Linked DNA regions of Homo sapiens: region 1 is linked to region 2. Evidence: promoter capture Hi-C in 16 types of primary human blood cells and fetal thymus (Javierre and others, 2016). All regions are on one chromosome and are shown on one strand. The core of a region is centred on a gene start or on the middle of the fragment in contact, and the rest is flanking DNA. Distances in the headings are between cores, read along the strand shown. Region 1 overlaps YEATS2 (YEATS domain containing 2). Region 2 holds the start of ATP11B (ATPase phospholipid transporting 11B (putative)).

The links. The method cuts DNA at HindIII sites, captures the fragments that hold promoters and counts their contacts. A CHiCAGO score of 5 or more calls a contact.
Region 1: a fragment that was not itself captured here is called in contact with the fragment with the promoter of ATP11B in region 2 in 1 of 17 cell types (fetal thymus); the score reaches 5.6 in fetal thymus.

Annotation. Positions count from the first base shown.
Region 1 is chr3:183,702,901-183,705,600 of GRCh38, forward strand. The region is part of intron 1 of YEATS2 (YEATS domain containing 2); the gene reads left to right. Among named protein-coding and RNA genes, the nearest start is that of YEATS2, 6.5 kb to the left of the region's middle. The HindIII fragment of the contact is 189 bases long and covers 1,275-1,463 here.
Region 2 is chr3:182,792,227-182,795,093 of GRCh38, forward strand. It overlaps ATP11B (ATPase phospholipid transporting 11B (putative)), which reads left to right and starts at 1,278. Exons shown (of 30, transcript NM_014616.3): 1 at 1,278-1,560. The coding sequence starts at 1,534. It overlaps ATP11B-DT (ATP11B divergent transcript), which reads right to left and starts at 1,138. Exons shown (of 3, transcript NR_187316.1): 1 at 854-1,138. RefSeq lists a silencer at 1,113-1,862. The HindIII fragment of the contact is 13,212 bases long and covers 1-2,867 here.

The sequences.
Region 1 (2,700 bases), core at 119-2,618, 910 kb after region 2:
CAGTGGCATGGATAATTTAGAGGAGCTGTTTTATCCTACAGTCTTCTGTGTGCTAGTTTGCAAGGTTGTAGACAGCGTACTGGCCAGAATGGATTCTGGGGGCTGACCATATTAGCAAATTGTGTAGTCTTAAAGCCGTTTTATTTATAGGAAAGTTGGTGTTTTTGACCTGGAAATATATAAGACTGAAATAATGAGACAGTGTTTTTGAGCTCAGCTGTCTTTTGCTCAGCTCTTTACATGTTATTAGAAATGTCCCACATCACGTCAGTCCTAATGACCAGATCGCTCAGCTTCTCGCCATTCAGGTCCAGTATAAAATTTTGATTATTTTTACTTAAAAGATCTGTTTTTGTTTTGGATGCCAGATGAGTTAAAGAAAAAGTGATATGTTAGCCAGCAAATGGGAACATATTCAAAAGGTTTTGTGTGTCAGACCTGACTTAGAATAATTAGCATAGCATTTTTTTGTCGGTACTAACTCTGGTGAAAATCATAACAGAATCTTCTGTCTCCTAGAGTTCCCTTGGTCTGAGTCTGTCCTTTAATAGAGGTTGGTGCAAAAGTAGTTGTGGTTTTTACTTTTGCACCAACCTAATAGATAACTTCTCGTTCCTTCTGTTACAAAATGAGCATAACTTTGGAAAGACGATCAGGTGTATTTTGTTTTTTCAGTTCTTTGTATCAAAGGGAGGTGACAGTGTTAAGAGTAATGTTTAAATAGGTGGAGAAATTTTAATTGACATTGAAATATAGATTTTGATTTTTTTGATAGGGCTTCTGCATGCCTAATGATTTTCTCAGTATAATATTAAAATGGATATATATTCTTAGAGTGTACATTGAACAGTCTTTGGGAAGAGTGGATGGTGTTGGGGTGAAGCTGCTGCCGTATTTAGTTTTCAAAATAGAATTCAGGAAATGGATCATATGTATTTGGATTACTGAAAGTCAGTTTCATTAAAATGTTCCTAAAGGGGCCAGGCGTAGTGGCTCACGCTTGTAATCCCAGCACTTTGGGAGGCTGAGGCAGGCGGATCACCTGAGGTCAGGAGTTCAACCCTCCCTCTACTAAAAAAATAAAATAAAATAAAATAAAAAATAGCCAGATGTGGTGGTGGGTGCCTGCAGTCCCAGCTACTTAGGAGGCTGAGGCAGGAGAATCACTCCAACCTGGGAGGCAGAGGTTGCAGTGAGCCGATATTGCGCCACTGCAATCCAGCTTGGGCAACAGAGTGAGACTCCATCTCAAAAAAAAAAAAAAAGCTTCCTAAAGCTTCAACAGTAGACTTGTGTAGTACAAATCCCCTTCGTTCTAGATCTCCCCACTTTGGTTTTAGGATTTAGCCTTTGTTCGTTCTGCTTGTTTCTTTTTCTGTTGCTGGCAATAAAACTTTCCAGTTATGATGCATTATGCTTTTAATACCCTGCTGGATTGGATTTGTATGTGTATTTGCAGTGAAAGCTTGTTTGCCATTTTCCTCTGATGGTGACTTTTGACCACATTTCCATAGGTTTGGAGATACTGTGTTCTCGTTAGTTTTTAAATAGTCTGTTACTTTAGTTTTAATTTCTTCTTTGAGTCATGAGTTATTAGAAGAGTGTCTTATTTTCCATATCATGGTGAGCTAATATTAATTTTTATTAAGATCAGAATGTGGCTGTAATATTTCTACATTTTGCAGTAATTTGAGACTTTCTTCATATCTTACTGTATGATTTACATTTTATGAACTTTTTTTTTTTTGAGACAGAGTCTCACTCTGTTGCCCAGGCTGGAGTGCAGTGGCGTGATTTCGGCTCACTGCAACCTCCACTTCCTGGGTTCAGCAGTTCTCCTGCCTCAGCCTCCCAAGTAGCTGGGATTACAGGTATCCACAACTATGCCCAGCTAATTTTTGTATTTTTAGTAGAGACGGGGTTTTACCACATTGGCCAGGCTAGTTTCAAACTCCTGTCCTCAAGTGATCCACCCACCTTGGACTCCCAAAATGCTGGGATTACAGGCATGAGCCACTGCATCCGACCTTAATGAACTTTTATAGATATTTTTAAAAGATTTTTTTCTGTTGGGTTCAGAGTTGTGTGTATTTGTTAATTCTGGCTTGTTAATTACCAGATATATATCTATATCATCTTTTTTGTTTGTTGTGTTTGTTTTGTTTGAGACGGGGTCTGGCTCTGTCACCCAGGCTGGAGGTGCAACGGCGCGATCTCAGCTTAACTGCAGGCTCCATCTCCTGGGCTCAAGCAATCCTCCTACCTCAGCTGCCCAAGTAGCTGGGAGTACAGGTGCTTGCCACTACTCCTAACTAATTTTTGTATTGTTTGTAGAGACAGGGTTTCACTGTGTTGCCCAGGGTGGTCTTGAACTCCTGAGCTCAAGCGAGTCACCTGCCTCAACTTCCCAAACTGCTGGGATTACAAGCGTGAGCCACCACGCCCGGCCTATCATCTGTATTTTTATAAATTGTCTTAATCTTTTAAATTTTATATAGAGATGTGTGATTTCTTAAACTTTCCTTTTTCTGTTTGTTGTATGTATTTTGATACTATATTGTTGGATGTATAGTTTAAGATGTATTTTTGTGATTGTGCCTTTAATAACATCATCTTTATCATGTTATTTTTTTTGCCTTGAATTCTATTATTAATATTGCCTTGCTTACTGTCTTTTTGTTTGCATGTGTCTGTGTATAA
Region 2 (2,867 bases), core at 28-2,527:
TTTTTTTTTTTTTTTTTGAGACGGAGTCTCCTTCTGCCGCCCAGGCTGGAGTGCAGTGGCGCCATCTCGGCTCACTGCAAGCTCTGCCTCCCGGGTTCACGTCATTCTCCTGCCTCAGCCTCCCGAGTAGCTGGGACTACAGGCGACCGCCACCACGCTCGGCTAATGTTTTGTATTTTTTAGTAGAGATGGGGTTTCGCCATGTTAGCCAGGAAGGTCTCGATCTCCTGACCTCGTGATCCACCCGCCTCGGCCTCCCAAAGTGCTGGGATTACATGGGATTACAGGCGTGAGCCACCGCGCCCGGCCGCTTAATTTTTTTTTTTTTAACCACAAACGTCTGTCGGTGAAGTGTGCTTTAATTCAGCAAAAATACAGCATTCAATACATATACATAACACAATATGTATACGGGGCTGCTTTTAAACAACGCCAAACCTTTAAGTCAAAGCCTTGTTCCAGTTGCTTGTATATTCCTTCTGAGCTTGTCATCCACACACTTTTTTAACCTAGGTCAAGTTACTGCTACGGGTGTTTTTGATTGCAGAAGTTTGGCAGTTAGCAGTAAAGAACTACCTTTTTATACAAATTATCTTCCCCTGAACCTGTCCAATTTAGCACACGGCAAGACAGAATATCTCATCCATTCGCCTAGAAACACGGGTCCAGGCTGTACCAGGCTCAGGGGACTTGCAACGCTTTCGAATCACTTAATGGGTGTGATCAAGATTTCCCTAGCCCCGTCTCAGCCATTTGCTAAAGAAGAGGCCTGACTTGTGTTGAGACGAAAGCTCTTACAGCTTGATGGAACCCAAACTGGGACTTCTGGGGGGATTAACTTTCAGTCACATACGTTCAGGACTGTGCGTATGCGTGTCGGGAGACGCGTGAACCAAAGAAGCCACAGAGCCCGAAAAAGACCTGCAACAGGAGGTAGAGACCGAGGAATCGGCCCCAAGCTGCAGACTCCGGAGATGGCCAGACCCACAGACACGACTTAATCCCACTCCCAGAACGGGGAGGAGGGTGGCAGTGGACAGAAACAGCGTTCGAGAACCCGGCACCTTTCCACGCTCGCTTCTTCCCGGACCCACAACACAGAAACCCCCCAACTCGGAACGGCGGCGGGGCGCGCCAGGCCCCCCTCGGTCCGCGCACCCCCTTTCGTCACGTCCGGGGGCGGGCCGGGGCGCCGGGGGCGGTCCCGGGTGGAGCCGGGGGGCCGGGCGGGGCGGGGCGGGGGTGGGGTTGCGGGGGTGCTTTGGGTGACAACGGTCAATAATGAAGGTGGCTGCGGCGCGGCGGCAGGCTCAGCTGCGCCGGGCGGGGGCGGCGCCGGGGCCGCGCCTGTAGGACTCGGGGCCGACGCCGCGGGATGGGGACGCGGCGCGGGGAGTGAGGCAGTGGCGGCGGCGGCGGTAAGCGGAACTTCGGCCCGAGGGGCTCGCCCGCTCCCGCCTCTGTCTTGTCGGCCTCCACCTGCAGCCCCGCGGCCCCCGCGCCCCGCGGGACCCGGACGGCGACGACGGGGGAATGTGGCGCTGGATCCGGCAGCAGCTGGTAGGTGCCCCCGCCCCTCCACCTCCATTCGTCCGCCCCCGCGGGGCCTCTCGGCCCGGGGTGGCGGGGAAAGGCCGGCGGCGCGGAGCCGGGAGGCCAGGGCGTGGGCGCCCGGCTAGGCCGCAGCGGAGACGGGCGCGGGGCCCAGAGCCGGAGAAGCCCCGTGCGGCTCCCGGGCTCGTCTCGCCTCCAAGCCCGGGCCGCCGAGGCTGGCGCCGAGCGGCCGGAGGCGGCCGCTTCTAGCCGGCGCTTCTCCGTTACTTCTTCCCCCTTGCCGCTCCGGGGCTGCTGTGGCCAGAGGCGGGAGTCCCGAGCGGGGTGGCGGTGCCCCCAGAGGAAACAGGGCGAGGGAGCTGAGCGAGAGTAGGTCTTGGGGAGATGAGAGAGGCGTGCTCTTCCTGCCTCGAACAATTTGGGACGTGTTTGGGTGAAGGGGAAGCGAAGAACCTGTCTTCTGCCCCCACTCGTCACGGACTTCTGGAAGCGTGTCACGATCCAGAGCTGTGTTGATTCCCGAGGAGGAGGCTGTCGTAGGTGTCTAGCCCCCTCAGCGAGAGACGTTTCTCCCCAGGACCTGGAAAGGGGAAAGACTGTGCCAGCTGCCGGTCTAGCTTCGGAAACGATACGTATTGTACGATAGTTACGAACGATACGTACTGTCGTTTCCTTCCTACCTCGTCCTCACCCCACCCCGAGTGAAACTTTTCGAGTGTGAACCTTACTTTTTTCCCGTTCTCCTCAAGGCAGTTTGAACGACACAGGTTTGGAAGGAATAGTTAACTCTCCAGTATTATTGGAACATCTGGACACCACCAACAAAAAATCTTAGAAAAGGGTCATTTAAGGCCTATAAAAAGTGCCACCTTTCCCAGAATTAATTCAGAGAGAAAAATCTTATCTGCCTCCTGGCAGCTACAGCGCAGAAAGTACAGCATTAAGGCAGCTGTGACAATTAGGACAGAAATTGCCCCTGGCTGAAGAAGCCTAACCTTATCTGTGTGATGAGGCCGGTTACTATTTAATTTCTAAATCGCATTAACTTAATGCTTCTACAAGTTGGCGTTTTCATTTACTAATTCTAAAGGCAGTGGTAAAATTTAGTGAAACAGGAACTATTTTTGTGGGACGAAAGCACTGATAACTCTTTTTCCCTTCTGCTCTAGAAAAGCATTTTAACGTTAAGACCAAGAAGTGTGGTGTTTCAGAGCCAGCCTTCTGTTACTTCGTTTTGCAGCGGGCATCATTCTCAAAAAAAAAAAAAAATTATAAATAAGAACTGCCTACCACTCCCTCCTACAAATGTTGGG